Regions from separate parts of the Homo sapiens genome. Here region 1 is linked to region 2. The links are contacts of gene promoters, found by promoter capture Hi-C in human tissues and cell types (Jung and others, 2019). All regions are on one chromosome and are shown on one strand. The core of a region is centred on a gene start or on the middle of the fragment in contact, and the rest is flanking DNA. Distances in the headings are between cores, read along the strand shown.

Region 1 (5,043 bases), core at 413-2,912, 82 kb after region 2:
CTCCAGGTGGCTGAGGAGAGGAAGGGGCAGGCGGTGCTGGCAAGTAGTGCCAGTGAGCAGCCCTGGCTGTGGGTGGCGGGCTCCTCTGCGGAGAGCATGAGGCTGCTCCCCTGAGAACGAAGGGCACTGCCCTAGTGGGTCCTGTTGGCAGACGCAGCCCCCGTCTTCTGCCTGGCTCTGGGGCTCTGCTGGAATCTCCCTGCAATCTTAGTCCCAGAACTGGGCTCGAAGTGCTGTCTGGCTCAGTTCTGTCAGCGTGTGGAAGGTCTGTCCGCGTGTGGAAGGTCCGTCCGCGTGTGGAAGGTCCGTCCGCGTGTGGAAGGTCCGTCAGTGTGTGGAAGGTCCGTCCGCGTGTGGAAGGTCCGTCCGCGTGTGGAACGTCTGTCAGCGTGTGGAAGGTCCGTCCGCGTGTGGAACGTCTGTCAGCGTGTGGAAGGTCTGTCCGCGTGTGGAACGTCTGTCAGCGTGTATGAGTTCTGGGCACTGCTTTGGCTGTGAGATCCCAGTCTGCATCAGGGAAGCAATTACAAAAGAGACCTACTTTCCTTTTCCCTCTTCTTCTTTTTTTTTTTTTTTTTTTTTTTGAGATGGAGTCTCTCTCTGTCGCCAGGCTGGAGTGCAGTGGCGGGACCTTGGCTCACTGCAATCTCCGACTCCCTGGTTCAAGCGATTTTCCTGCCTCAGCCTCCCGAGTAGCTGAGATTACAGGCATGCGCCACCATGCCCAGCTAATTTTTTTTTGTATTTTTAGTAGAGACGGGGTTTCACCGTGTTGGCCAGGATGGTCTCAAACTCCTGACCTCGTGATCCACCCGCCTTGGCCTCCCAAAGTGCTGGGATTACAGGCTTGAGCCACTGCACCCAGCCCCTTTTCCTTCTTCAAAAGAATTCTGTCTTCCACTTTCTTCCTCTCTTTTATATTTACTGTGGTAAAATATCATAACATAAACTTGGCTGTTTTAACTATTTTAAGGTGTGTCACTCAGTGCATTCACAATCTTGTATAGCCATTACCATTATTCACATCTAGAAGTTTTTCATTTTCCCAAACAGAAACTCTCTCCGTTAAACACTAACTCCCCATTCATTCTCCCTCTCCACAGTCTCTGGCAACCACCATTGTCTTTGTCTCTGAATTTGACTATTCTAGGTACAGTTTATGAGTGGAATCATAAAGTATTATCTTTTTGTGACTGACTTATTTCACTTAGCACTATGTGCCCAAGGTTCATTCAGTATTGTACTGTATGTCCAAATTTCCTTCCTTTTTAAGGCTGAAAAATTACTGTGTGGGTGGGCCACATTCTGTCCATTCATCCATCCATCAGTGGAGACTTGGGTTGCTTCCAGCCTTGGCTATTGTGAATAACACTGCTGTATATGTGGGTGTACAAATACCTGTTTGAGTCCTTACTTTCAGTTCTTCTGAAAGTAAGAAGAAGTTCTTCTGGATAAATACCTATGAGGCCAGGTCATGTGACAATTCCATGATTAAGTTTTGAGGCCAGACCTTTCCACAGTGGCTGCACCATTTTATCTTCCTGTCAACAAAGTCTCCCCTTTCTCCTCATCCTCCCCCTCATCCCGCCGACACTTGTCTTCCTTCTTCTGATGCTCGTCATCTGATGTGCGTGTGGAACGGTGTCTCCGTGTGGCTGATGCTCGTCATCTGATGTGCGTGTGGAACAGTGTCTCCGTGTGACAAGTGATGTCGAGCATCTTCTCGTGCTTTTTGGCCATGTGAATAGCTTCGTTGGAGAAATGTCTATTCAAGTCCTTTGACCATTTTTGAATTGAGTTTTTTTTTTGTTTTTTTTTTTTAGTTTTAGAAGTTCTATATATATTCTGGATATTAATCCTTTATCAGATATATGCAAATATTTTCTTTGGGTTATCTTTTTACATAAAAAATTTTTTTTAGATGTAGGGTCTTGCAGTACAGTGATCATAGCTTCCTGTAACCTTGAACTCCTGGGCTCAAGTGATCCTCCCACCTCAGCCTCCTGAGTAGCTAAGACTGCAGGCATGCGCCACCACATCCAGCTAATTTTTATATTTTTTGTAGAGATGGGGTCTCGCTATGTTGATCAGGCTGGCCTTGAACTCCTGACTTCAAGTGATGCTCCGGCCGTGGCCTCCCAAAGTGCTGGAATTATAGGCGTGAGCCACCAGCCACCCAGCCTTTACTCCTTGATAATGACCTTTGACACACAAGTTTTAAATTTTGATGAAATCCAATTATCTTTTTTTCTCTGTTGCCTGTGCTTTCGGTGTCATATCCAAAAAAGTCATTGCCAAATCAGTATCATGAAGCTTTTCCTCTATGCTTCCTTCAAAAAGTTGTATGTTTTCTCTCTTATGTTTAGGTCTTTAATCCATTTTGAATTAATTTTTGTATCTGGTGTAAAGTAAGGGTCCAGCTTCATTCTTTTGCATGGGGTTATCCAGTTTTCCCAGCACTTGTTGAAAAGACTGTCCTAGGCCGGGCACGGTGGTTCACGCCTGTAAACCCAGTATTTTGGGAGGCCAAGGCAGGCAGATCACCTGAGGTCAGGAGTTTGTGACCAGCCTGGCCAATGTGGCGAAACCCCATGTCTACAAAAAATACAAAAATTAGCCAGGCATGGTGGCAGCGCCTGTAATCCCAGCTACTTGGGAGGCTGAGGCAGGAGAATCACTTGAACCTGGGAGGCGGAGGTTGCAGTGAGCCAAGATCACACCACTGCACTCCAGCCTGGGTGACAGAGCGAGATTCTGTTTCAAAAAAAAAAAAAAAAAACACCGTCCTTTCCCCCATGAATGGTCTCGGCCTAATTGTTAAAAACCAGCTGGCCGGCCGGGCGCAGTGGCTCATGCCTGTAATCCCAGCACTTTGGGAGGCTGAGGTGGGTGGATCATGAGGTCAGGAGATTGAGACCATCCTGGCCAACATAGTGAAACCCCGTCTCTGCTAAAAATATGAAAAAATTAGCTGGGTGTGGTGGCATGTGCCTGTAGTCCCAGCTACTTGGGAGGCTGAGGCAGGAGAATGGTGTGAACCCGGGAGGTGGAGCTTGCAGTGAGCCGAGATTGTGCCACTGCACTCCAGCCTGGGCAACAGAGCGAGATTCCATCTCAAAAAAAAAAAAAAAACAGCTGGTGATGTGTGCAAAGGTTTCTTTCTGGACTCTCTGTTCTGTTTCGTTGGTTTATATGTCTGTCCTTATGCCAGTGTCGCACTGTTTTGGTGACTGTAGCTTTGTAGTAAGTGATAAGTGTGAGTTTTCCAACTTTGTTCTTTTTCCAGATTGTTTTGGCTATTCAAAGTCATCCCGTGAGATTCTGTATGAATTTGGGGATGGGTTTTTCAATGTTTGCAAAATTGCTGTTCAGATTTTGGTAGGGATTGCATTGAATTTATAGATCACTTTGGGTAATACTGTCTTCTTAACAATATTAAGTCTTCAATCCATGAACACAGATGTGTTCCTATGTATTTATTTATTTATTTCTATTTTTGAGACAGAACCTCACCCTGTTGCCCAGGCTGGAGTGCAGTGGCGCAATCTCGGCTCACCGCAACCTTTGCCTCCCGGGTTCAAACAAGTCTCCTGCCTCAACCTCATGAGTACCTGGGATTACAGGTGCCCGCCACCACAAAATAATTTTTGTTTTGTTTTGTTTTTTTTGAGACCGAGTCTCGCTGTCGCCCAGGCTGGAGTGCAGTGGCGCGATCTCGGCTCACTGCAGGCTCCGCCCCCCAGGTTCACGCCATTCTCCTTCCTCAGCCTCCCAAGTAGCTGGGACTACAGGTGCCTGCTACCTCGCGTGGCTAATTTTTTGTATTTTTAGTAGAGACAGGGTTTCACCATATTAGCCAGGACGGTCTCGATCTCCTGACCTCGTGATCCGCCCACCTTGGCCTCCCAAAGTGCTGGGATTATAGGCGTGAGCCACCACGCCCAGCCAATTTTTATATTTTTAGTAGAAATGGGGTTTCACCATGTTGGCCAGGTTGGTCTCAAACTCCTGACCTCAAGTGATCTGCCCACATTGGCCTCCCAAAGTGCTGGGATTATAGGCATGAGCCACCGTGCCTGGCCCCATTTACTTTAAATAGGTCTTTAAATTCTTGTAGCAGTGTTTTGTAGTTTTCAGTGTACAAATCTTTTATCTCCTTGACTTAATTCTTCTGGATGCTGTCATATATAAAATTGTTTTCTTACTTTCCTTTTTGGATTATTCAGTGCTAGTGTATGGAAATGCAGCTGCTTTTTTGTGTGTCAATTTTGTATTCTAGAACTTTGCTGAATTCATTTATTAGCTCTAGCAATTTATCTGGAATATTTAGAATTTTCTATGTGTAAGATCATATCAGGTCAGGTGTGGTGGCTCATGTTTGTAATCCCAGCACTTTGGGAGGCCTACACAGGAGGATTGCTTGAACCCAAGAGTTTAAGACCAGCCTGGGCAACATAGTGAGACCTGGTCTCTACAAAATAAATAAGAATAAAAATTAGGCAGGTGTGGTGGCACAGATCTGTAGTCCCAGCTATTCAGGAGACTGAAGAGGGAGGATCACTTGAGTCTGGGAGGTCAGGGCTGCAGAGCCGAGATCACGCCACTGTGTGTACTTCAGCCAGGGCAACAGAGCAAGATCCTTGCTCAAAAAAAAAATACATATTCTAAAAAAAAAAATCATGTCATTTGGGAACAAAGATAATTTTACTTTTGCCTTTACCATTTGGATGCCTTTTATTTCTTTTTCTTGCCTAATTGCTCTGGCTGGGACTGCTAAGAGAAGACCGAATAGCAGTGGTGAGAGTGGGCATCCTTGCCTCGCTCCTGATCTTAGAGAAGCTTTCAGTCTTTCAGCATTGAATATGTTGTCAGCTATGGGCTTTTCATAGGTGCCTTTATCATACTGAAGATATTTCCTTCTATTCCTAGTTTGAGTGTTCTATCAAGAAAGTATGTTGAATTTTTTTTTTTTTTTGAGACAGAGTTTTGCTCTTGTTGCCCAGGCTGGAGTGCAGTGGCATGATCTTGGCTCACGGCAACCGC
Region 2 (5,528 bases), core at 1-2,500:
GTTGCACGTGCTCACGGCAGCAGGAGCATCTCCTGCATCTGGTGCCCCTGGCCCCAGTCCCCATTCCGTAGCTCAACTCAGCAGCACCTCCCGCTCCTGCAAAGGAGACCATGGTGAGGGCAGGAGAAGGGCATAGCCTGCTGAACGCAGGGTGTCTCTTCTCTAGGTTGTGAGGCTGAGGCTTTTTCACCCCCACTTCCTGGAAGTTCCCTCAACGGAACCTGCCAGAAATCTGCCCCTTAGGATGCTAGGGGAAAAGCTTTTGCTGGGGAAAGGCTCGCCAGAGGCATCTGCTATAAAACCGGCGAGGAGGGTGCTGCTGACCAGGGCAGGGGACAGGCGTCGGGGAAGCCCGGGGCCGCCAGCCGCAGGGCCAAGCCCTTTTCTCCTGCAACGTCTCTGGCGCCCTCTACCGACAAAGCCTAACAGCGCCAGCTGGCAAAAGAGAAATACCGAATATTTGAGCCGCCCAGATACGCTTTCGCAGAGAGCATCGGTGAATCCTGGGCAATACACTGACAACTGGAAAAAACGTTTAGAGATCCCTTAAGTGCTCCATGTTTTCCCAACATTTACCCACGGCTCGCTCTAACATCTGAAATAATAGTAATCATTTTTGAAATTATTTTGATGGAATTAAACAATTCCAGCACTTGTTAAATAGGCACATACTTAATTTGCAAAACGCCGTGCAAGAACCCGTAGCGCACCTGGAGAAAACTGTCTGGAGGCGGCTCAGGCACTCCGGGTCCAGGCAGGACGCGGGACGGGGAGGGGCCAGGCCTGGCGCCCGGGGCTGAGCCCGCTCCTGCTGCTCGGGGCGTCCACGCCCCGCGGCCTCTGGGAGGGGCCTGTGGCAGGAGGGAGGCCCGGGAGAACAGGCCCTTTCCTGGGCCACGGGGGAAACCCCTGCCCCAGGTGTGTGTCTCTCAAATGCTGCGTCGGGCCACGCGAGGATTGTTTTGTGGCTACAACAAAATTAACTATGCTTGCACAAAACTTTAGCCAATACCTCAAAGGGAAACGTAAAAGGGGAAAGACGCACTCTTACCCCACCCACTCCAAGGCAGCAGTCAGCACACCCAAGCCCTCGTGCTCCCACGCGGGTTTCACCGAGTGCCCCACTCCAGGGGGCCCGGAGAGCCGGCCCAGGTCCCGGCCCCGCCCACCCGCGCGGCCCCGCCCCCGGCCGCGAGCGTGCGCGCCCCAAGCGGAGACCCCGCCCCCGGAGCGCGTGCCCGTGCGCCGCCGCCGCCATTTTGGAGCGATCGGAGTGCCGCCCGCGGCCCCGAGTCGGTCTCGAGCCGCCGGCCGGCCGTGCCGGTGTCCGTAGGCGCTGCGCCCTCGGCCGGGCCCATGTGTGTGCGGCCCGCCCGAGGCCGCCCGGGCTTTGCCTCCACCAGCGCCCTGGCCTCCGCTCGGGCCTCCACACGGGCCTCCGAAGAGCTGCCGCGACGCCCGGCCCGCAGGGCAGGTGAGTGCGGCCGCCCGCCGCTCAGACCCGGCCCCCAGTCTGCCAGTGCCCCCCAAGTCACTTCTCCCCGAGTCAGTCAGTGCCCCCTCCAGATAGTTATCCCCCAGTCAGTCAGTTCCCCCTCCAGTCAGTTCCCCCCAGTCGGTGCCCCCGGAGTCAGTGCCCCCCCCAAGTCAGTCAGTGCCCCCTCCAGTCAGTTCCCCCCCAGTTAGTGCACCCTCTAGTCAGTTCCCCCAGTCAGTGCCCCCTCCAGTCAGTTCCCCCCCAGTCAGTTCCCCCCCAGTCAGTTTCCCCCCAGTCAGTTTCCCCCCAGTCAGTGCCCCCCAGTCAGTGCCCCCTCCAGTCAGTTCCCCCCCAGTCAGTGCCCCCTCCAGTCAGTTTCCCCCCAGTCAGTGCCCCCTCCAGTCAGTTCCCCCCCAGTCAGTGCCTCCTCCAGTCAGTTTCCCCCAGTCAGTGCCTCCTCCAGTCAGTTTCCCCCAGTCAGTGCCCCCTCCAGTCAGTTCCCCCCCCAGTCAGTGCCCCCTCTAGTCAGTTCCCCCCCAGTCAGTGCCCCCTCTAGTCAGTTCCCCCCCAGTCAGTGCCCCCTCTAGTCAGTTTCCCCCCAGTCAGTGCCTCCTCCAGTCAGTTTCCCCCAGTCAGTGCCTCCTCCAGTCAGTTTCCCCCAGTCAGTGCCTCCTCCAGTCAGTTTCCCCCAGTCAGTGCCCCCTCCAGTCAGTTCCCCCCAGTCAGTGCCCCCCCAGTCAGTTTCCCCCCAGTCAGTGCCCCCCAGTCAGTGCCCCCCAGTCAGTGCCCCCTCCAGTCAATTCCCCCCAGTCAGTGCCCCCTCCAGTCAGTTCCCCCCCCAGTCAGTGCCCCCTTCAGTCAGTTCCCCCAGTCAGTGCCCCCTCCAGTCAGTTCCCCCCCAGTCAGTGCCCCCCCAGTCAGTTTCCCCCCAGTCAGTGCCCCCCAGTCAGTGCCCCCTCCAGTCAATTCCCCCCAGTCAGTGCCCCCTCCAGTCAATTCCCCCCAGTCAGTGCCTCCTCCAGTCAGTTTCCCCCAGTCAGTGCCCCCTCCAGTCAGTTCCCCCCAGTCAGTGCCCCCCCAGTCAGTTTCCCCCCAGTCAGTGCCCCCCAGTCAGTGCCCCCTCCAGTCAATTCCCCCTAGTCAGTGCCCCCTCCAGTCAGTTCCCCCCCAGTCAGTGCCTCCTCCAGTCAGTTTCCCCCAGTCAGTGCCTCCTCCAGTCAGTTTCCCCCAGTCAGTGCCCCCTCCAGTCAGTTCCCCCCCCAGTCAGTGCCCCCTCTAGTCAGTTCCCCCCCAGTCAGTGCCCCCTCTAGTCAGTTCCCCCCCAGTCAGTGCCCCCTCTAGTCAGTTCCCCCCCAGTCAGTGCCCCCTCTAGTCAGTTCCCCCCCAGTCAGTGCCCCCTCTAGTCAGTTTCCCCCCAGTCAGTGCCTCCTCCAGTCAGTTTCCCCCAGTCAGTGCCTCCTCCAGTCAGTTTCCCCCAGTCAGTGCCTCCTCCAGTCAGTTTCCCCCAGTCAGTGCCCCCTCCAGTCAGTTCCCCCCAGTCAGTGCCCCCCCAGTCAGTTTCCCCCCAGTCAGTGCCCCCCAGTCAGTGCCCCCTCCAGTCAATTCCCCCCAGTCAGTGCCCCCTCCAGTCAGTTCCCCCCCAAGTCAGTGCCCCCTCCAGTCAGTTCCCCCAGTCAGTGCCCCCTCCAGTCAGTTCCCCCCCAGTCAGTGCCTCCTCCAGTCAGTTTCCCCCAGTCAGTGCCCCCTCCAGTCAGTTCCCCCCCCAGTCAGTGCCCCCTCCAGTCAGTTCCCCCCCCCAGTCAGTACACCCTCTAGTCAGTTCCCCCAGTCAGTGCCCCCTCCAGTCAGTTCCCCCCAGTCAGTTTCCCCCCAGTCAGTTTCCCTCCAGTCAGTGCCCCCCAGTCAGTGCCCCCTCCAGTCAGTGCCCCCTCCAGTCAGTTTCCCCCCAGTCAGTGCCCCCTCCAGTCAGTTCCCCCCAGTCAGTTTTCCCCCAGTCAGTTTCCCTCCAGTCAGTGCCCCCCAGTCAGTGCCCCCTCCAGTCAGTGCCCCCTCCAGTCAGTTTCCCCCCAGTCAGTGCCCCCTCCAGTCAGTTCCCCCCCAGTCAGTTTCCCCCCAGTCAGTTTCCCTCCAGTCAGTGCCCCCTCCAGTCAGTTCCCCCCATCAGTGCCCCCCTAGTCAGTGCCCCCTCCAGTCAGTTCCCCCCCCCCGGTCAGTTCCCCCCCCCAGTCAGTGCCCCCTCCAGTCAGTTTCCCCCCAGTCAGTGCCCCCCAAGTCAGTGCCCCCTCCAGTCAGTTCCCCCCCAGTCAGTGCCCCCCTCCAGTCAGTTCCCCCCAGTCAGTGCATCCTCTAGTCAGTTCCCCCCAGTCAGTGAACCCTCCAGTCAGTGACCCACCCAGTCAGTGCCCCCTCCAGTCAGTTCCCCCCCAGTCAGTGCCCCCCTCCAGTCAGTTCCCCCCAGTCAGTGCATCCTCTAGTCAGTTCCCCCCAGTCAGTGAACCCTCCAGTCAGTGACCCACCCAGTCAGTGCCCCCTCCAGTCAGTTCCCCCAGTCAGTTGCCCCCCAGTCAGTGCCCCCCAAGTCAGTCAGTTCCCCCTCCAGTCAGTTCCCCCAGTCAGTCAGTGCCCCCCAGTCAGTGCCCCCCCCAAGTCAGTCACTGTCCCCTCCAGTCAGTGCCCCTCCAGTAAGTTCTCCCCAGTCAGTGCATCCCCTAGTCAGTTCCCCCCAGTCAGTGCCCCCTTCAGTGTCCCCCAGTCAGTTCCCCTCAGTCAGTGCCCCCCCAGTCAGTTCCCCCCGCAATCAGTTCCCCCGTCAGTGCCCCCTCCAGTCAGTGCCCCCCAAATCAGTGCCCCCAGTCAGTGCCCACTCCAGTCAGTTCCCCTCCAGTAAGTGCCCCCCAAGTCAGTTTCCTCCCAAGTCAGGGCCCCCTCCAGTCAGTTCCCTCCCAGTCAGTCAGTGCCCCCCCAGTCAGTGCCCTCCTTCTGTTCCCCCACCCTACACCAGTCAGTGCTTCCTGCACCAGTCAGTGTCCCCTGCTAGCTAGTCATTGCACCTCACCCATCAGTCCCCACCCCACCCATCAGTGCCCCCCACCGTCAGTCAGTGCCCCTTGCAAGTCATGCTCCTCCTGTCGGTCAGTGCCTCCGCATCTGTCAGTCCGCGCACTGGTCAGTGCCTCCACTGTTGGTCAGTGCTCCCCCACCGTCAGTCCACTCTGCTCCCCATCAGTGTCCCCCAGTCAGAGTCCCGCATCCCTGTCCCCCGTCAGCCAGTGCCCCCCCAGTCAATTATTTTCTTTCTGTCATGTCCCCACTTCCCATCAGTGCCTGCACCCCCACCCGTACCCGTCAGTCACTGACCGCATAATCCCTCCCCTGCCAGTGCCCTTCCTTGTCAGTCCAAGCGCTCTGTGACCCCTTCTGTCAGCAATGTCCCCACCTGTCATTGATCTTCTCTGTCAGTGCCCCCCATCAGTGCCAGTGCCTCTGTCAGTGAGCCCCACTGTCAGTAAGTTTCCCTCATAAGTGTCTCCCTCATCCTGCCTGTTGTGGCCCTTCCGCTCTTTGCTATCGGCCTCTGTGTTAGTGCCTGTCAGATCCTCCCCATCAGTTCTCCCCTGTTGTCAGTTCCTGTCCCCTTTCATGCTACCTCCTTCATCCCTTATCTGTTAGGGACCCATTAGTACCCTGCCCTGCTGTTAGTGACCCCACCTGTCAGTGTCTCCCCACTGCTTCTCTCCTGCCTGTCAGTGGGAGAACTTTCAGTGCCCGCTGTCATCACCCCTCTTGTCCAATCACTGATTCCCCTTTCCATTATTTCCTAACCCTTTCCAACACTACTCGTCTTTTCCTGTCGCGCTCCCCATCACGGCTTGAGATATCACCAGTCATCTAACCTCACCTTACCCCGCACTGCCCTGTTGCTTCCATCCCCATCATCTCTTCCTTCAGCCTGTCACCTTCCCCCATGCACCGTACTGTCCCCCGACCTGCCACTCTGTGTACTCGCAGCTTCCCTACCTGCTTTGTCCACTCTCTTGTTACTGACTCCTCC

What was found. The method cuts DNA at HindIII sites, captures the fragments that hold promoters and counts their contacts. A contact is called where the count stands out against the background at its distance.
Region 1: a fragment that was not itself captured here is called in contact with the fragment with the promoter of PPP6R2 in region 2 in 2 of the 25 tissues and cell types used here (H1 embryonic stem cells and dorsolateral prefrontal cortex).

What each region holds. Positions count from the first base shown.
Region 1 is chr22:50,424,073-50,429,115 of GRCh38, forward strand. All of the region lies in intron 10 of PPP6R2 (protein phosphatase 6 regulatory subunit 2), which reads left to right. Among named protein-coding and RNA genes, the nearest start is that of MIR12114, 19 kb to the left of the region's middle. The HindIII fragment of the contact is 3,827 bases long and covers 1-3,576 here.
Region 2 is chr22:50,342,077-50,347,604 of GRCh38, forward strand. PPP6R2 (protein phosphatase 6 regulatory subunit 2) reads left to right here and starts at 1,251. Exons shown (of 24, transcript NM_001242898.2): 1 at 1,251-1,474. RefSeq lists an enhancer at 1-605 and silencers at 702-871, 1,142-1,421, 1,432-1,511. The HindIII fragment of the contact is 17,181 bases long and covers 1-5,528 here.